Linked DNA regions of Homo sapiens: all the other regions are linked to region 6. The links are contacts of gene promoters, found by promoter capture Hi-C in blood cells and fetal thymus (Javierre and others, 2016). All regions are on one chromosome and are shown on one strand. Each heading gives the region's core, a stretch centred on a gene start or on the middle of the fragment in contact. The rest is flanking DNA. Distances are from core to core; before and after follow the strand shown. Region 1 has its middle 81 kb from the start of TET2. Region 2 has its middle 170 kb from the start of TET2. Region 3 overlaps AIMP1 (aminoacyl tRNA synthetase complex interacting multifunctional protein 1). Region 4 overlaps TBCK (TBC1 domain containing kinase). Region 5 has its middle 280 kb from the start of TET2. Region 6 holds the start of INTS12 (integrator complex subunit 12). Region 7 has its middle 230 kb from the start of TET2.

Region 1 (2,913 bases), core at 294-2,793, 640 kb after region 6:
TGACTATGAGAATATAATTATGGTAGCTACAACTTCTATAGTAATTATGCTTCTATAATAATTGGCCATCTCTCTGCATAGTGGGGAAATTTAGGAGATGTGTACCTGCAATGAGGATTTCCTGTTGATTCTTATAATCCACATCTATCTTTCAGCCAGGACAAGCTAGTTAAACAACTATGGGTTCTCAAAAAATGGAAGAGTTTTAAGGCTTTTTTGAGAGAGGCTGTCCACTATGATATGGGTCCCATGGAATAAAGAAGAGGATATGTTTTCCTCTCTATCATTCTAATTTGCTGTATCAGAGTAAGTGGAGAATTAGCAGAAAAATGAACTGAGTTGTTTGAATTATCCTATTTGGCTCAGCATACATAAATTGAGTGCATATGACATTTAGGCCTAATTTTAGTTGGTTAGGATGAGATGAATTAGATATAATAGTCTCCCTCAAGGGTTTATAATGAGGAGAAATAGATTTATGAGCAACTAAGTATTTAAAACAATGTGGTTTTAACAGAGATAGGGCCAAAATTCATTATAGATTTTAAATACATAACATAGGAAAAAATTCTTTTTTATTAAAAAAATTATTTCAACCAAAACATTTCTATAATTCTTGAATTAAAGTCCACCTCACAGATAAGATTTTTGCAAAACTGAAATATACAAAGTTTCAGAGTCAATAGTCATTTCTGATAATTAACTGCAATACTATGGACAAGTTATTTAATTTCTATAACCTTGATTGTTTTCTTATGTAAGGTGTGGATAATTCTAACTCCAAAGAGTGTAAGGATGAAGAAAGAAAACATTCATAAAGTACCTAAAGTAGTACCTGGCACATATCATCACTCAATATGTGCTGGCTTTATCCTACCTTCCATCACAAGCCTTATTTTTCTTCTTTCCAAAGAAAGAATAGGAAGGATGTATTTTAGTTAGTAATAACAGTTATAAAGAAGAATACATTTTGAGGTCATGTCTAAGGAGATAAGTGCATCCTGTTTTCTTCCTTGTGTTATTTAAAACATAGTGTTCAACGTTGACTTTAATGAGAAACAGGGCTTGTTGTAGATGCAGAGAGGGGCAGCCTCCATATCTACCTGCCTACACATGAAATAAGGGTCACTGCATTTCTTTGAAGGAAACCCAGGGCTCTGCTTATTACTCCCCTGTTCTGTGCAGTGAACACATAACGTAACAGTTGCTAAGGACCCACTCTGCACAGAGCTTGAGCTGGGCCTTCCCATGTACATCGATCTCCAGTTCTTCTAACAACTTTGTGGTCAAAAGATGTGGAAATAGGAGAGTTACAGAGTTAGAGATGGTCTGGACCAGGATTACAAACATTCTATTTCTCTTTTTACAGAAGCCAATTCTTCACTGTGGTCTGAAGGCCCTCTCTACTCCTGCCCCTTCCTTCTTCATCTTTCACAGGAGTTTCCCCCAATATATATCTTACATGTGTAATCCTGTTTTGTTAGCTCCTCCTGGGTTGACCTGAGTTGACATGGCAGAAACCAAACATGTTCTGATAAGTCAAGTGGCAAGATGGAGCTTGGGGCCTGGCTCACTCATTTCTCGACAGGCAAGGAGGACTGCATCATGAGAGGAATGTGGGGCCTAGATAGTCCCTGGCACAAAGTGAAAATCCAATCGCTGAACAATTCATCAGGGGTGACTTGAGGAAACATCCCAATGGAAAATGCCCTTGCAGTTATAATGATTCAAGGATTTGAAAGAGAGATGGCGGTGGGGAGCACAAGGACAGAGTGTTGGCTGGGCATTACTGTTATATTGATGCTCTGCAATGGGATAATGAGAAACAGAGAACCATTAACAAACTACTGCTAAGGGCAAGAGTTAGAGAACCTCTCTGGTGATTTAAGAAGGGTCTCTTTTCCCCTGCAGTGGAATAATGAACAGCTGAAAAACAGACTCCAGGATTTGACAAGTAGAATTCCAGAGCATCAGAGATACTTACATGCTCAGCCAAGGCAGACCATGGATGAAAACCTAGGATCTTAAAACATGGGATGAAGACATAATGGGTAGATTCCCCCAGAGGATTTTGGCTCTGTATACATCCCTGAATGTTCAAAGTTTACAGAGGTGGCTCATTCCTTTGCAGTAAGAGGTGGCAATGCCTGAGTGTGGGAGATAAACCTCATGATGTTTTAGAGACCTGTCATTTCAGTGAAGTTTTTAGAGGTCCAAAGAAGCTCCTGGAACAATATTAGATCCTGCTAGGGACGGAGCTCTTGACCATGGGACACCAATTGTCCTGCCCATTATGAGCTAACTTCTGTCAGACTGGCCAAAGCATAAATATGAATGGGCTGAGCAGCAGTCTCTCATTAGATAGAAATGTACATCCAGAAATGTCATATGCAATGACAATGAGCACAGGTAAGCTATGTGGGAAGGTAGACAAGACTCCCACATTAACCATCACAGTCACAGCAGTGATGCTTACAGAAATTGCACCTGTGCCTGTGGGGAAATCCTGTCCAATCAACTGAAGGAATGAGATAAACCTGAGCTTGGCTTATGGACAGGTTGGCTCAGTATGTAAAAATGGAAAGTGACTATGAGAAATATAATTATGGTAGCTACAACTAATTGATTAAAAACTTGACTGTAAAAGTATATACTTTTTAAATACTTAAATATGTGTAATTATTTTTCAAGTTCTTTTCTCCTGAAAGTAGAATTTTTAAAAATATTCATAAAACTTAAAAATTATTTGGGTTATAGTTATATTCATACTTTTTCTCTCTGACTACCTAATTTAGGATAATGAAGTTTTTAGTCCTTTACTTAAGCATTTCCATCTGCCCAGCAACTGGAGTCCATCTGGAATAATGTATTTTTATGAAATTGTATGGGTAACTCAAACCAGGATTACTCATC
Region 2 (2,700 bases), core at 169-2,668, 740 kb after region 6:
TGTGTATCTACCAGATCTTAACTGAGAATGTAAGAGAGGTGGGAGTAAAGGCTTCCTGTAGAATAACTAAGCTGATTGTTGAAGAAACTGTAGACTTTAGTGTTAAAAGAGGGAGTGACTGTGAGTGCTCTAGGTAGACAGAGCAATATTTGACAAGTGCAGTGACTTGGATGTGAGAATAATCATGGTGGCCTCTATAAACTGTCAGCAAGTATTGGAGCCAGAGCGAGTGTGATGGGCTAAGGAGGCCCAGTGAAAAAAGGATTAGTGCTTTCATGGTGGCCAAATGAGAAAAAGATTAGGGCATTTTACTTCTATAATCCTAATAGATCCCACAGTCCCACGTAGCCCAGTTTCTTTATGGGGGGGGCCTCTAAAAAAGCCCAGTCTAAGTAATCAAAAAATCATCAAGCAACTCTAATCTTAAAAATTGTACTTCTCAAAAAATATAAAAATCCTCACTTTCCTCTATCCAATTTCTATTTTCTATTCCTCCTATTTTCTAACACCTAAAAACTACCTCTGTAAATTCTTAATCCTTCAGTATTTTCGCGACATTCAGCTCTCATCTTTTCCCTTCTCCCTCTCTTTCCTTTTCACTTATCTCTTTATTAAGTTTACTTAATGTCTCCAAGTCTTTCTCATTCTCTGGTCTTTTCTTTGTCTAACCTCCTGATGACTACATCCTAAAAGATCCAGAATAGGTCTAGAGATGGAACTTTCTTGAGACAGCAGGAAAGAAAGACAGGAGCTTTGTGTACTTTTATAAACGCAGTGGTAAATTACACTTATAAACTTGGACTTAATTCTGGATCTAGTCGCAGTCACGGGAGGATTTTTAGCCAGGGAGTGATACAGTAAGATTTGCGTGTTAGAATGTTTCCTTTTATAGAATTGCAGAGAATAAACAAATAATTACTTCAGTTACACAAACATAATAGTGCTGAGCATTTATTTATTAAATTTATGTATATAATGACTATCATAGGCAATAAGGGAACTTATAATTACAAGTAACTTTAAACAACTGAGCTAAATGTAAACAGAAAATCAAGGCCAAAGAAAATATGTCTGCAAAAATGAGTGTTGTTATAGTTTCTTTTATTCAGCTCCAAACTTACCTCAGAGTTGCTGTTGGAGCAGTGAGTAAACCAGCTTACTAATTTATAGCAATTGTGGTAGTCGACTTCAAAAGTGATTTCTTGGGAGTGTGTTTTGAGAAGTTGAGGACCAAACAATAAAATGTAAATTTAATGTTAGAGACTATAAGGACTGAGTATACTGCTTTCTAGAATGTAAGAGTCAGGAACGTGAATAAATAGATTGCTAGAACATAAATGGTTAATATGTCTGTCAACTGTTGTCAGTTATTTTTCTCAGATTTGATAGGTGCTATGTTAATACTATTTTGGTCTGGAAGAATTTTAAAGCAGATGTGTTTTATTCATTCTTGACATAGAAAAACAAATTTCTGTAGGGCGCCTGGGAAAGTCTGATTCTAAGTATCATGCTGTCTGGACATGCCTATTCCATAATATGCATTCTCACATAACCGGTTTGTGATGTGGTATGATCTTATGGTGACTAATTGAATTTTGAGAAAGTTTGCCAATGACAATGATTTTATGGCATGTTGACCCTTTCTTTTCTGTAGGAGATTGAGACATCTTGATGCTCCTTCTGATTTGTAATGGGGGACTTAGTAAGATACAACATAAAGACATCATCTAAGGGATGGCCCCTAGCCAACAGGTTTTGTGTGCATTAATTATGACATGTAGGAAGTATCTGTATATAGTCAGCACATAGGAAATATTTCTCTTTATTTTCTCTGCAGGAGAATAGCTATCAGGCACCAGATGATGTTCGTGTTGTCATCAGGTGTGATTGCCAGGATGAACATAAAAAAACAAACATATCTAACCCACCAGTGGAGCTGCTTTTCCACCTTCCTTTCCCATTGGGTGTGGCTTTGTGATGCTACTAAGATCAAGAGAGAGGAAAAGAGAGTTTGGCGGTTTGGAAGAGCTGCATGGAAGATGTGATACTTGAAAGAAAGATAGCTAGGTTTAGTGAAGTAAGACAATAATCAGGTCAAATAGAGAAACAGGAACAAAAGTTGAGCTGTATGATGATGAGATGCCTGTGAGCAGAGGGAGTTCATTCTCAGTGAGGACAAGAAGATGCTCAACTAAATTAATCTAACTAGCTCTTTATTTAAAAGTCACTGGGGATTCACAGTCTACATAGTATCAAGTAAAGGATGGCCAGTTTAGCTTGTGAATGATGGCAAAATTAAGTGATTCAGAAAACAGTGACCTGTTTCACATTTATTCATTAGGTTGAATTTTGTGTTCTATTTTTATATTCAAACTCTATACCAGTTCCCCTTCTCACTGTACTAAAATGCTGAAATGTATTTATTTTTATCTATAGGTTAACATTCAGCATCAACTAATCAGGAATTTCTTCAATTTTATACGTGAAGGGTATGTTTACAAGTATAAAAAAATAAATTTAAAAATTTTTGATATAAGAAAATATCTTGCTGTTTTGGGTCCTTTCTTTTGAGAATGGGAGTATTCTAAAAACAATTTTACCTGTACCTTAGAATTGCAAATGGAAATCCTTGATATTTAAATTTAAGTGTCTTTTTAATGCTTAATATGAATTCTACATCATCAGATATGTGGCAGCAAA
Region 3 (2,700 bases), core at 41-2,540, 620 kb before region 6:
TCGTTGAAAACCTGAACTGAGGTAGGACCTAATGAAAAGAAAGAGCAGAGCTGGGGTCTATGTATGTTTTGGGGACAGGAATAATAGAATTTGTTGGTTAATTAGATATGAAGAACAGGGAATAGGGACAGGTTAAGGTTGATGACTAAATTTCAAGGGTTGTTGCCTAAGTGGATGGTGACATTTCTATCTACTTTAGTTCTCATGGATTCTTGAAATCTTAGTTCAGACAGTCTGTTTTGACTGGTGGAATGTTCTTTTCCTATCTTCACAACTGGTCCTAAGCTAGTTTCCTATCTGTGACTTCTCTCAAACTATACCACAAATAGATACCAAAATTCAGCCATACCAAACTACATATGGGTTTCTACACTTAACCTTTACAGTCTGTTTTAACTTATGCCAGTCCCTCTGCCTAAAATGCCACATTTTTACCCCGTTAATCTGGTCAATATTCACACACCATTTAGGACCCAGCTTTTATGTTCCAATATCATATTGTTCCTAATTTTATCCTAGCTCATGAAAGTTGAACTTTACTTTTGATACTATTATTATTATCATTATCAAAACTTGACATTTTCTGATAATCCAGTCAAGAGCTAAATATGCTTAAAGGTCAAAAATACCTTTCTTTTCAATTTTCTCTTTCGCTTTCTTTTCGTCTCCTGTTCCTCCTTTTATCTGTTCTTTGGTACCAGAAGATACGGTTGTTACTGCTGTAGACTGTATCACATTTTCAGAAACCATAGAATTAGCGTGCAGTGGAGTACCAGATGGAAATGGTATTTGCTTCACTGAGACAGAAAATGAAATAATGTCATTCATATTAAACCAATAAATATGACAAAAAATATGAAATTGTGAACCACAAATGGGAACTCTTTTTAAATGAAAAATTCACTGTATATGGCTATCAAATATCCACTGTCTGAGACTATAAAATGGCTGCCAAAAAATTAGGCATATTTTAGCCATAATTGAGGTATCAAAGAATAAAGGCATGATTCCCATTTAATCAATTACTAAACCGAGAAACCTGCAAATAAGAACAGCTAACATTTATTATGAACTTACTATGCCCCAAACACTTTTCAAAATGCTTTATACAAATTAACTCATGTAATTCTCATACTCTAAGAAGTAGGTTCTATCCATGCCCCCATTTTATTGATAAATCTGAGTCATTTAGAAGTTATGAAGTTGTCCAAGTTGCCTAGATACAGATTCTTACTTCTTTCCTCACTGTTGGTGTGACTGGCCAACTTCTTAACTTCTGGATTACTCAAATTTTCTATATTTAATTACCTCCATTTTGAATTTCTGCCTGAATTAGCTCTTGTTTCAGTTCTTCAATTTCTTTCTTCAGTTTAGCATTTTCAACTCGAAGTTTCTTCTCTTCCCTCAAAGTTGCCTGCAAAACTAGGATCAAGAACATCCAGTTAAAATATGTTTTTAAAAGAGGTTTTGTATGAATACTATTTGAAAAGAAGACAGCCAGTATAACTACAGCTAGGATAATACTAGCTCTAGTGTAACCAAATGTTTGGCCAGTGCCTTTATGCCAGTTTAATATTTATTAAAACAACATGCTATTTAAGAGAGAGAGAGAGAGAGGGAGAAAATATATGAAATAAGAGTAAAACAGAAAGACTTTGTTTATGAATCATTTTCCTAGCTCCTATTAAGATGCTAACTAAGATCAAATTACCACCTTTTCAGCATTGCGGCTATAATAAAAGGCAATGGCAAATAACTTAAGAAGCTGGCACAAAAGTGTCAATATGTGGCCAGGTGTAGTGGCTCATGCCTGTAATCCCATAATCCCAGCACTTTCAAAGGCTGAGGCAAGAGGATCACTTGAGCCCAGGAGTTTGAGACCAGCCTGGGCAACATGGCAAAACCCATCTCTACAATAAATACAAAAAGTAGCTGGGGGTTGTGGTACATTCATGTGGTCCCAGCTACTCAGGAGGCTGAGGTGGGAGGACTGATCGAGGCTTGGAGATTGAGCCTGCAGTGTGAGTTGAGATAGTGCCACTGTATTCCAGCCTGGGTAACAGAGCAAGACCCTGTCTCAAAAAAATTTTTAAAAATAAAAGATAAAATGTCAATAACAGATGCTGAAAAAAAAGAGAAGCATTATATTAAATTATATATATATTTTTAAAAAAATTCTGAGATGTTACCACACAAGCAAAAACTATTCTCATGTCTTTCTTTTTAGTCATTACCTTTTAAAAGAAGCTGAATATTGCTAAAGTCTGAGTTAAGCTAATCAAACATTCAATGAGTGAAATAACTCAAGGATTTGCTCAAAATATAATGTATGTGTTAAAAGTGTGCAATGGGGTAACAAAAGTATAAGAGAAAAATAATGGTTCTCAGTGGGGTTGGTACTGCTTTGTAGGTAGGATTTTGAAAATCTGTAGGATTATTTTTGATTGTTAGTACTGGCATTTATTGGGCAGAAGCCAAGAATGTCAGATGTCCTGCAGTATGCTGGATACTCCTGCAAAATGAAGAACTGTTTCACATCCTGCAGAACTTTATAGTGGCCTATCATAAATTTGTATAAGTAAAAATCCTATTAATAATTATTTGAGTCTAGATTTTTAACTATTCTTTATATATAAACACAAAGTGTTTTTAAGCATGCTTATTATACCCTAAATTTTCTATGAATCAAGTACCACATAA
Region 4 (2,860 bases), core at 200-2,699, 600 kb before region 6:
ATTTTATTTTTAATGATTTCAGTAAGGTTTCTTGTCAAAGTGGATTTATTGAATTGGAATTCCAGCATATTTATCATTAAGCTGAGAAGGGAAAAATGCAGGGCTTTACCAGTAGAATGTCTTCTTAGTGAGGTCCATGGGTAAAAGATTTTTGTGTCAGAAGACCCTTTTTTTTGTTGTTATGGTTGCCTTAATGTGATTCAGATTGATATGGAGCAAGTTTCCTACTCTCCAGGCTACTACTTTACGCAACTTTGGGGCACCATTTATTTTGGAGTAAGTGCAAATAGGACGCCTCATGCTATACACATGGAACAACTATCTCTAAACTGGAGCCAATAGCTCTGTCAGGATTATTAAAAGGATTAAAGCAGATCATACATTATGTAAAATATCTAGCATAAAAATGAAAATTGGTTATTTAATATTATAGAGCCTTCTTTTAATCTAGTTTAAGCTTTACTACTATTAATAAGGTCCCCTATTCGTTACTAGTTGGTACCTATATTTCCTCTTTCCTGACCTACCTCACTGTATGAGAAGGAAGGTTGTCAGTGGTGTGTGGGTTATTCAATCTTTAGGTAAAGAGAGGAGCCTTATTGGCTGGGTGTGGTGGCTCACGCCTGTAATCCCAGCACTTTGAGAGGCCGAGGCGGGTGGATCACGAGGTCAGGAGTTCAAGACCAGCCTGGCCAACATAGTGAAACCCCATCTCTACTAAAAATACAAAAAGTTAACTGGGTGTGGTCGTGGGTGCCTCTACTCGGGAGGCTGAGGAAGGAGAATTGCTTGAACCCGGGAGGCAGAGGTTGCAGTGCGCGGAGATCACACCACTGCACTCCAGCCTGGGTGACAGTGCGAGACTGTCTCAAAAAAAAAAAAAAAAAAAAAAAAAAAGAGAAGAGCCTTATTAATAATATGAAGATGCAGTAACAAACTTCCTCTACTCTTTAAACTGTCAAATGTCATTGAGAATGGAATAATCTTTTCTTTTTTATGCCATTGAAAATCTTAGAGTTTGATTTAGAGCTGCAATATAAATTTATGCTGAGTTGTTTTGTCCTCTGATATTTTAGAATTTTCTTATACTTTGATATTTTTACTGTGAAGTGTTCAGGTTGGCATTTTCCTCCAAGTTGTATGTTAATCATGCTTAAGATTTGGTCTGTCTGGCTTAATGTTTGGTCTGTCCTAAAATTCTCTCCTTTTCCAGATTATCTTAGAAGACCTAGGACTCCAAAAATGTTTCCCCTGAAGGACGCTGAAATGGGAGCCTTTACCTTCTTTGCCTCGGCTCTGCCACATGATGTTTGTGGAAGCAATGGACTTCCTCTCACACCAAATTCCATCAAAATTTTAGGGCGCTTTCAAATCCTTAAAACCATCACCCATCCCAGACTCTGCCAGTATGTGGATATTTCTAGGGGAAAGCATGGTAAGTTATTTTCTTTTTTTTCCTATTTATGTTCTCTACTTTGTTACCCTAAGTTATAAATACTATATCCACTAAATATATAAAGCTATCATCAGTACCAGTGCACACATGTCCTTCTTTCTCTCATCCTTTTCCCCCACCCTGCCTCTCTCTCGTACACTTCCCCATTTACTTGCAAATCTACCAGGTAAAATTCAAACTCTTTACTAGGCTATTGCATACAAAATCCTTCATCTAGTCCTTGATCTAGTCTGTGCTGTCCTCTTTCGATGTATTGCTTGTTGTTTCCACTAATTTAACCCTTCATGCCAGCCAAGCTGAGTTGCTTTGAGGTTTTTTGATTCACATATCCTTGATTTTGTACTTTGCAATTTTCTCTCATGGATTATGCTATGCTCCATTCCCTGCAATCTGAGCTAAGTCTTTTTCCTAAGTTCTTTTATAGCTTTTATCACATTTTATTATTTTCTATTTAATTTTTCTCCTCTGAGGATTCTTAGTTCTTGAGGATAAGGACCTTTACTTGTGACCTCAGAGCACTCAATAAGTGTTTGTTAGCTGAATGAATGAATTAACAACTATATTTGAATGATTAATGTTTCTCAGATCTGAGAATCAGGATTTTTAATTTTCTTTTTCAGGGAAACCGTCTATTCTTAAACATATTTCTTTATCTATATGAAGGAAATGAAGTTCTAATGTTAGGAACTTTAGAAGAATTATCTAACAATATATTTTATGATTGAAAGTAATGATTTTGGCAACTGTCTTCAAATGAAAAGGGAGTCAGTAGATTTTTTTTTTTAAACTCCATTAGTCTTTTTATATAGCAGCCCATTTAGAGAACTGAATTAGAAAAGTTGAACCCTATTGGTTAAAAAGTCAGTGTTTGAGGAAGATGTTTACTGCGTTTTTAGTAGTGTAATCAGGTTCTTTCATTCTCCACTTAAAGATTCTTATGGTGGCAATATTTTTAATTATTTCAGAATTATTTTTGGAAGCTTAATTGCAGGGTAAGGTTGCATTTCTTAAAAATATTTTAAATGCATTTCAGTGAAATGTATTTAATTTTTCTAACATAAAATAATTTGTAGACGTAAAAAAATCTGAAAGTAAACCCTATGTAGTTGGTGATATTCAACTTTTTCCCTATAAAAGTGGCAATTTTATGTGTTTCAACCTAATATTAAAAACCCTGATAAATGCAAACAATGTTTTCTTTACTGTTTTGCTGAAAATAGACTAAACTGTACTTTCAAGTTCCCTGGTTTATTTCTCTTAAAATATTTACTCTGAGAATATTTGTGTTTTATAGACTGAGTAGAAATTTTTTTTGTAATGATAATTATTAATCGTTAAAATTTATTGAGCGTTTATATAAGGCAATATTCTTAGTGTTTTACATATTTTAATTACATATTTTAA
Region 5 (2,931 bases), core at 222-2,721, 850 kb after region 6:
CTGTGATCAGTGACCTTTGATGTTATTCTTGCAATTGTTTTAGGGTGCCATGAACCATGGCCAAATAAGGTAGTAAACTTAATCCGTAAATGTTGTGTGTGTTCTGACTGCTTCACTGACCAGCCATTCCCCTATTTCTTTTTTTTTTTTTTTTTTTTTTTTTTTTGAGACGGAGTCTCGCTCTGTCGCCCAGGCCGGACTGCGGACTGCAGTGGCGCAATCTCGGCTCACTGCAAGCTCCGCTTCCCGGGTTCACGCCATTCTCCTGCCTCAGCCTCCCGAGTAGCTGGGACTACAGGCGCCCGCCACCGCGCCCGGCTAATTTTTTGTATTTTTAGTAGAGACGGGGTTTCACCTTGTTAGCCAGGATGGTCTCGATCTCCTGACCTCATGATCCACCCGCCTCGGCCTCCCAAAGTGCTGGGATTACAGGCGTGAGCCACCGCGCCCGGCCGCCATTCCCCTATTTCTTTCCCTCTCTTTAGGCCTTTCTATTCTCTAAGGCACAGCAATATTGATTTTAGGCCAATTAATAACCCTGCAATGATTTCTAAGTGTTCAAGTGAAAGAAAGAGTCATGCATCTTTCAATTTAGGTGGAAAGTTAGAAATGATTAAGCTTAGTGAGAAAGGCATGTCCAAAGCTGAAATAGGCTGATAGCTAGTCATCTTGTGTCAAATGGTAGCCAAGTTGTGGATGCAAAGGAAAAGTTTCTAAAGGAAAAGTGCTATTCTAGTGAAGACCCGAATGATAAGAAAACAAAACAGATTATTGCTGATATGGAAAAAGTTTTAATTGGAGAGAAGATCAAACCAGCCACAGCATTACCTTAAATCAAATTCTAATCCAGAGCAAGGCCCTAACTCTCTTCAATTCTGTGAAGGTGGATAGAGGTGAAATGGCTGTAGAAGAAAAATTGGAAGCTAGCAGGAAGTTGGAAGAAGAAAACCTCACAAAAAAAAGTTGGTTTCTGAGGTTTTACGGAAAGAAGCCATTTCTGTAACATAAAAGTATAAGATAAGGCTGCAAATGCTGATGGAGAATTTGCAGTAAGTTATCCAGAAGACTTAGCTAGCTAAGATCATTGATGAAGATGGCTACACTAAACAACAGATTTTCAATGTAGTTATAAAAGCCTTGAAAGATGAAAAATCTTGAAAGAAGATGCCATCTAGGACTTTCCTAGATAGATAGAAGTAGAAGTTAGTGTTTGGTTTCTAAGTTTCAAAGATTGGCCCTCTTATTAGGGGCTAATGCAGCTGGTAACTTTAAGTTTAAGCTAATGCTCATTTAGCATTCTGAAAATCCTGGGGCCCTTAAAAATTAAGCTAAATTTACTCTGCCAGTGGTCTATAAATAACAGAACAAAGCCTGGATGACAGCACATTTATTTACAGAATGGTTCACTGAATATTTTAAGCCCACTGTTGAGACCTACTGGTCCCTTGAGATGGAGTCTACACCTGAGGGAGATGCTATGAAAATTGTTGAAATAACAACAAAGGATTTAGAATATTACAGAAACTGAGTTGACAAAGTAGCTGCCTAGGTTAAGGGGACAGAATCCAGTTTTGAAAGAGGTATTATGTGGGTAAAATGCTATCAAATAGCGTCACATTCTACAGAGAAAACTCTTGTGACAGGAAGAGTCAATCTATGCAGCAAACTTCATTGTTGTCTTACTTGAAGAAATTGCTACAGCCACCCTAGCCTTCAGCAACCCCTACCCTGATCAGTCAGCAGGGATCAGCACTGAGGCAATACCCTCCACAGGCAGAACAGTTAAGAGTCACTGAAGGCTAAGATGATTGTTAGCATTTTTAGCAACAAAATATTTTTAAATTAAGATATTTACATGGTTTCTTTAGACATAATGCTATTGAACATTTAATAGACTACCATATAGTGTAAACATAACTTTTATGTGTGCAGGGAAACAAAAAAATTATGTGACTCGCTTTATTGTGATATTTCCTTTATTGCAGCTTTCTGGAACAGAACCCACAAGATCTCTGAGGCATGCCTGTCCTTAATTTACCCTAATCATGGAGGTGCTTTTTATTTGTTTTAAAAGAAAGGAACATCATATTAATATAACCACTGAACTCACATAAATACAATATGTTCTTCAAATTTCTCTACATGGAATAAGAATAGAGCTTGCAATTTTTTTTTTGTATTTAACTGATAGTGTTTATGGATAGCATTTAACTGATAGCATTTTCAGAACAATGGGTTGAGTTGAGGGGTGCTGTGGCAACCATTATATGGAGCCAGGCTACTGATCTGTACACAGAATGGCCTCCTAGTCTTGGCAAAGCTTTGAACCTCATGAGTGGGCCAGCTAATAGAACACGCCAAGAGACCATAGTCTAGCTGCTGCTGGAGAGCTTATATTGACTGCTGACGTTGATAATTATTCTGTTAACTTATATCGAGAAATACTTCCTCTCTAAAACCCCTAACACAGAGCAAGAATTATAATATCTACATCATTTTAGTACATTCCACAAAATAACAAGTCATGTACTGTATGAGTTAACTGTTCCATGTCCTCTAAGCACTTAGGTGGAAACTTGGTGACCCCCAAATATACTGGAAAATATTTTTTTCCCTGAACTTTTCTGTAAGAATTCTTAGAAGGTAGAGTGTCTGATTAATATTCTAGCATAGCAATACAAGTTTAGAGCCCTTAGTTGTGTGGAAAATATCTTAGGAGAAAACTGTCACAGAGATTTAACCCTTGGGATAGTATTTAGAGTGGAAACAAAATAATTACCTAGAGTGTTAGAACATTTTCCTGATCTTAAGTTTCTTTGAAAATAATATATTTTGAGGTCAGTAAGTCAGAGACTTCTAAGAAATAATCGAGAGGACCCAAGTTTGATGCTCACTGGCTGTTGCTTACAATTTTAAACAAGATAGTGATTA
Region 6 (2,888 bases), core at 242-2,741:
CAAAAACACGTAGAAGTGCAAAGTATATAAAATAAAAAGAAATGATGATTCTCAAATCTCATTGACCTTTTCAGTCTTATTTTTGAAGTGAGACCTCACAAAACGATACTTTCAGGTGTAATACAAACACAATTTTTAGTAATGAGTGTGCTTAAAGCAATCCTCTCAGTGGTGTATGCTCCCCATCAGGCAGTTAAAAAAAAAGAAAAAAAAACCCGCATAGCTTAATGTTTATTAAATATGACAGCGAATCACTTAGTTGTGTTATAACAGTTTATTATCATGGATTTAAATGACTATGTTTACATGTTTAAAATTATCACATCACTAGTTCTTGCTAGCTTTTGCATTTTCTCCTGTAAACATTGTTTTTACAGATAAGCTTAGGTAAAATAGAAATACACCACCTTCTTTATCAATAATGTAGCACACAATATATTACTAAAGCTGGCATTTTCTTGATATTCAAGAATTTATGACAAGGAATGGGATCCTGGCATTAAGAATAAAGGGGAAAAAAACAAGTCATCTCATCCCAAAACCAGGTAGAAAGTTGGGATGGGAAGTACGTGTATTAGCAAACGTTTTTGAAACCAAAGCAACTTTCATGCAAATTAAACTTTCTATAGAAGTTAAAAACCCAAGAGATACTGCTGTGATGACAAAACATAAGCAAATGGCCCCAAATGAAGCAAGTCCTTTGGAGTAAATGTTAAGTAGTATTCACATAGAACTGCTTTCTGCAATCAGGAAGGGCTGGAATGGAAAACTCAATGCCAAAGAGAGAAGAGAAGTTAGTGTGACCCAAGAGGTCTTGAAGTAACACTTAACAGCAAATATCAAACCACCCCAACCAACGCCTCCAACTGGAAGCTGCCCCATTTCTCCATCAGCAGAGGAAGACATGAGGGACTGGCTAGGGGGAAACTGGGAAACGCGTACTACCGAGAAGCCCAGAGCCCTCAACCCGCACCTTCAGCAGGAGTGGCCAAAAAGGAGTTTGAGGCGGCCCCAGGGCGGGAGAAAAATCAGGACGATGATACCACGCCCTTGTCCTTCCCACCCTTCCCCCGCATCCTCAGCCCTGCAGACCCCCGAAGAAAAGACCAGTTCTTAGGGGGTCGCGGAGGCTGAGAAGCCGGCGGCCCGAGCGCCCTCTTTACCTGGTCGCAGAGGCGCGGCCAGGCAGGGAGGGTGCGTGAGCGTGTCGGCGACCTGGGCCGCCTGCGCCTTCCCGCCCAGTCCGAGCTGGAATTCCAAGGCTGCCTCTGGGAGCTGCTGCCCGCAGACCACTCGCCTCCACAGACGCCAGGAGAAAAACGACAGCCACCTTATGTGGAAAATACTCGCGCCGGCCGTCATTCATAATCCGGCGGACCGGAAAAAGGGAAGTAACGTCACTTCCTACTGTCGCACTGCCAAACGTTTCCCCCGCCCCTACTGTGGGAACCTTTGTTTTCCTGCTTTCGGAGCCGGCCAGTGCGGGAACCGTTTCCGAAGGGACCACCGGGAACAGACGGATCGGCAGGGCGGGGCGGAACGGTGAGTTATGCTGAGCGACTCTGCTCCTGGCCTCCTGGAGGCTCGAGACCCCCGCGCCAGGAGCGAGGTGGGAGAGTAGCTACGTGGGGTATTAGTTTCCTCGCTCCTCAAGGGGAATCATAATTTACGGGCGGTTGCGTGCCCTAGACTGACTGCTCTCCCCTTTCAGTGAGGACTGTGCTTCCTCCGAGGGAGTTGCGGGCCGGGACATGCGGACCGAGCATATTTCTAGGTCTAGGGACAAGGGACTTGGAATCCTGCCTCGGACTTTGTCGGAGGGTTTTAGTGACTTCTCTACGTAGCTCCCTCATTGTCTCTCATCTTTTGGCTCCCCTGTCAAGGACCATCCCCCATTCTAGGACTTCGATGTGTGATGCTTTGATCAAAGGATTGACATTCCTTTTCTAAGTGTTTGCTGTCAGCTTTCAGCCACTTGATTGGTTTGGAATCGGAGCCTTTTCTCCTGCGATTCCAGGTGTCCCTAAGGTATCAGTGTTATCCAGAACCAAGAACTCAGTGGAGGAATGAAAAAGGCAGCATCTTTAAAATAATGTTTATTGGAAGGGGTTGCAAGAGCTTGCGAAGTCATGAAGAACAAAGTTTTTTAGAGCCATTATGAAATGGCAACGATAATACTGCACTCTATGTGAACAGTTTCTGTTTCCTTCATCTGGGGCACGTGCATATGATCAACTTTGGACTTCTTTTGAGATTGCCAGGTAGGGTGAAAAATGGATCTAGGAGAAAGCACATACTTATATTTATATATGAATGCCCAATTTAGACTGGAGAGATCACAGAAGCCTTATAAGGTGACATTTACGCAAAAAACCTAGTTCGTTCATTCGATAAATATTTTTGAGCCCTTATTAAGTTTCAAGCACTAGGGAAATAACAGTGAACAAAACAAGTTCCTGCTGTCATCAAGTTTACAGACCAGTGGGATTAATGAATTAAGCAAGACAGGCGAAAGATTGTGAGAATTTTACAGATAGGAACATTGTACTACAAGTCCCCAGTCGTGAAAGAGGTGATTGCTTTGCTTTTGCTTTTTTGATGTTTGGAGTTTTTTTTGTGGGGGCAGGGGTGAGTTACTTTTGTGATTTTTGCTGAAGGGACCTTGGAAATGGCTACAATTGTGTAGAAGGAGAGATAAGACCACTATACTTTGATCACTTAATTCCAGTAATTCTATAGCCATTATTTTGTTGTACTTTGCAAAGTGGCAAAGAGATAGGCAAAAAGATAAATATAGACTCTGCCCTTAAAGTACTCAGAGTTTTGTAGGGGACATAACACTTGTGCCAAAAAAAAAAAAAAATGCTTCAAGGGAGAAAGTTGCAATA
Region 7 (2,700 bases), core at 111-2,610, 790 kb after region 6:
TAAAAAAGAATAAATATAAATATTATTAATTGTCATTCAGAATCTTTGGTGAATGAAAAGGGCCATTACTAGATTCTGGTTCTGGTTTACCAACCTAGTCAGTTCATAGAGGAAGCTGGGGCCTGTTGAGGCAACATGGTACAATGGAAAGCTTTTAGACTCTGCCCGGGTTCAAATCCTGGTTCTGCCACTTACAAAATGTAAATAGAAGGAAAATGTACTTAATTTCTTGGAGCTTTATTTTTACGCCATTTCTCAGACATGTGAGTGTTAGTGGGTTCTTTGGATTATTGTGAGGTCAGTTCCTCTCATTTTAAATGACTTTCCCAGGGTCACTTAACTAATTAGGCAGAGTGGACTAGAGTGTTTATCCCCTGATGGTTCATCATATGCTCTGTTCAGTATACCATGGCTACTTTTCTAGCTAAGGATTTTGAAGCATGCCATATTAAGGCACATCATTTTAATTATAAATAGACTAGAATGAAACAAAGGTGTGACAAATACTGTGGTTTGGTTGATCCAATCTGTTGTTAATGTCATCCAGCTAAAGACCACCAGGAACATACCTGTAATCGAGCAAGTCTGACTTATTAATAGATGCAAGAAAGGAGACCACACACCATGGGAAATGTGGGGCATTTCAGTAAGAGGGTGTTTGGAAGGATTATTACAGGATCTGGTCTCAGGTGATTTTTGGGGAGGGCTTAAGAAAGTGGCTTTGCTCTGAATTGGATGCTATCAGGAATTGGGGGTAAATATATGATTGCTTATTTTAAAAATCTTATCTATAATATGGGAAAAATAAAGTGAGGCTAAAGAATCAAACTGGGAAAGAAGCAGCAGCTACTGATATTAGCCAGGCTATGAAGGTGCTTGGTATTTTTGTGGTTTGCACAATGATCTTGTTTATGTGCTTAGACAAGGTTATAGAGTGGTCTTTTTTTTTTTTCAGTTCATCATGGTCACTGATGTTGGTGATTTGGAAGCTTGTTTATGTTCAACAGGATATCATCAAGGCCTATTTATGAACATAGCTAGCTTTTCACAACATCAAGGCCTAGCTATATAGCTGCAGTTTCTGAAATGTCAAAAGCTGCTCTTCTTTTTCTCTCTGCATCTCTTTTCTCTCCAGCCACCTTTCTGCAAGGACTGGCTCCGGGGCAAAATTATAGCCAAAGAAACATACACAGAAGTTTCCTGGGAGCTTCCTAATAAAACTTTTACTTTCAAATATTGGTACCACCCATTCTCCTTGCTACATCCTCTTTCTTCTTGTTGGAAAGGGGATATAATTGTAGAAGCCACAACAGCTTTTTTGTAATTGTGAGGACAAAGTAAAGTGATCTCAGAGTCTTTGGCATCATTGATCTGCTGAACCAGCCCAGCACTGCTAAACTCTGGATTTCTCATTATGGGAGAAAAATACTTCTCATTTTTTTCAAGCCACTGTAGTCAGGCTTCCTGTTTGTTACCTGTTGCTGAAAGCATTCCAAAAACATTGGGCATTCACCTTCATTATTTACTAAACTAGATACTCTTCTGGCAGCCAAATTTTTATGATGACTCAGAACATATTCCATTTGGAAATAGAGCTTGGCAATTATTCTCCCCTTTTAAAAATTAGTCTTAAGTAAATGAATTACTGTTCTTTCTGCTTCATAAGGTTTGTCATTATTACTTCACTCAGATGCAATTGCTTTCAGAAACCTGAATAAGAAAGAAAGCTTTAGAAACCTTCCAGATTAAGTTCTGCAGGAAGAAGTGTGGGTACATTTGTAGACTTGATTATTTAAAGGGTGGATACAGCTATAAACCTAATTGCTAGATAATTGTGACTTCACCACTGCAATTTGTTGGGTCCCTATTCCCATTGTGATTTGTCAAGCTTCACAGTGTATTGGTTGTTTTTAATGATCATTGACTTAGAGGTGAAAAGAACTCCTGTTTTCCTAGGGGATAATTCCCTGGTTATTCTGTGCTATAGTGGTTAGAAGGTTAGATTGCATATTACAGAATCAATGCCCACTGGAAAACTAATAGCATGTTTGGAAGTGATGATGAGGACAATAGCTAATTACTATTAACTGTGTAGGAAAACTAAACTGCAGGGCCGGTAGGAATCCAGCGCCTGCTAGATGCTGGATGAGAGTTCTTAACAAAAGAAAAGTGAAAAGGTTCAGGGAAACTTCATGTATTGACAGCTGGGATTTGTACATTAAAAATCTTGTGCCTGTGGTCAGAATAAATTTTACTCTGGTCAAAATAAATTTTTTCTCTACCCACCAACTGGTAATTATTTTACAAGTGATAGTTTTTTATTTTTTTAAAAAATCTCCTTCTGCACCTTACACATAATAGATACAAAATAATTACTGTTCAAGAAATGCTTGAAAATATATTAAAATTGGACTCTAAAGAATAGTTTAATTTCTGCAATAATGACAGTAATAATTTATCAAAATGTTCTCCATAAATAGTAAATTATTTAGCAGATCACCATTCATATATAACAGATATATTACTGAATAAAATATATTAATGTTCACTGTGGTTAACATAAAATATCCAGATGGGAGGGAATTTAATAATTTATGGGGATGATTCTTGTCCACTTAACTAAGTAGGATGTGAATTTTGCATAAAGTGCTTGACCGTTCCATGAAAACTTGTCACTGTTTGAGAGAGACCAGGATCTTA

The links. Contacts are between HindIII fragments. The CHiCAGO score rates a contact against its expected background, and 5 or more counts as called.
Region 1: a fragment that was not itself captured here is called in contact with the fragment with the promoter of INTS12 in region 6 in 1 of 17 cell types (total B cells); the score reaches 5.1 in total B cells.
Region 2: a fragment that was not itself captured here is called in contact with the fragment with the promoter of INTS12 in region 6 in 1 of 17 cell types (naive CD8 T cells); the score reaches 5.6 in naive CD8 T cells.
Region 3: a contact is called between a fragment that was not itself captured here and the fragment with the promoter of INTS12 in region 6, in 1 of 17 cell types (fetal thymus). The highest score is 5.4, in fetal thymus.
Region 4: a contact is called between a fragment that was not itself captured here and the fragment with the promoter of INTS12 in region 6, in 4 of 17 cell types (total B cells, activated CD4 T cells, fetal thymus and 1 more). The highest score is 6.9, in total B cells.
Region 5: a contact is called between a fragment that was not itself captured here and the fragment with the promoter of INTS12 in region 6, in 1 of 17 cell types (monocytes). The highest score is 5.2, in monocytes.
Region 7: a contact is called between a fragment that was not itself captured here and the fragment with the promoter of INTS12 in region 6, in 2 of 17 cell types (total CD4 T cells and total B cells). The highest score is 5.6, in total CD4 T cells.

Annotation. Positions count from the first base shown.
Region 1 is chr4:105,064,042-105,066,954 of GRCh38, reverse strand. No RefSeq gene overlaps it. Among named protein-coding and RNA genes, the nearest start is that of TET2, 81 kb to the left of the region's middle. The HindIII fragment of the contact is 6,862 bases long and covers 1-2,913 here.
Region 2 is chr4:104,970,584-104,973,283 of GRCh38, reverse strand. No RefSeq gene overlaps it. Among named protein-coding and RNA genes, the nearest start is that of TET2, 170 kb to the left of the region's middle. The HindIII fragment of the contact is 3,428 bases long and covers 1-2,700 here.
Region 3 is chr4:106,326,173-106,328,872 of GRCh38, reverse strand. AIMP1 (aminoacyl tRNA synthetase complex interacting multifunctional protein 1) reads right to left here. Exons shown (of 7, transcript NM_001142416.2): 3 at 1,309-1,422; 4 at 630-797. Among named protein-coding and RNA genes, the nearest start is that of AIMP1, 11 kb to the right of the region's middle. The HindIII fragment of the contact is 5,734 bases long and covers 1-2,700 here.
Region 4 is chr4:106,307,343-106,310,202 of GRCh38, reverse strand. TBCK (TBC1 domain containing kinase) reads left to right here. Exons shown (of 26, transcript NM_001163435.3): 2 at 1,214-1,435. The coding sequence starts at 1,243. Among named protein-coding and RNA genes, the nearest start is that of TBCK, 7.4 kb to the left of the region's middle. The HindIII fragment of the contact is 1,979 bases long and covers 460-2,438 here.
Region 5 is chr4:104,860,979-104,863,909 of GRCh38, reverse strand. No RefSeq gene overlaps it. Among named protein-coding and RNA genes, the nearest start is that of TET2, 280 kb to the left of the region's middle. The HindIII fragment of the contact is 1,702 bases long and covers 621-2,322 here.
Region 6 is chr4:105,707,292-105,710,179 of GRCh38, reverse strand. INTS12 (integrator complex subunit 12) reads left to right here and starts at 1,491. Exons shown (of 8, transcript NM_020395.4): 1 at 1,491-1,542. GSTCD (glutathione S-transferase C-terminal domain containing) reads right to left here and starts at 1,396. Exons shown (of 12, transcript NM_001370181.1): 1 at 1,164-1,396. LOC124900747 (a long non-coding RNA gene) reads right to left here. Exons shown (of 2, transcript XR_007058214.1): 2 at 2,084-2,279. RefSeq lists an enhancer at 1,167-1,416. The HindIII fragment of the contact is 4,662 bases long and covers 385-2,888 here.
Region 7 is chr4:104,918,476-104,921,175 of GRCh38, reverse strand. No RefSeq gene overlaps it. Among named protein-coding and RNA genes, the nearest start is that of TET2, 230 kb to the left of the region's middle. The HindIII fragment of the contact is 738 bases long and covers 992-1,729 here.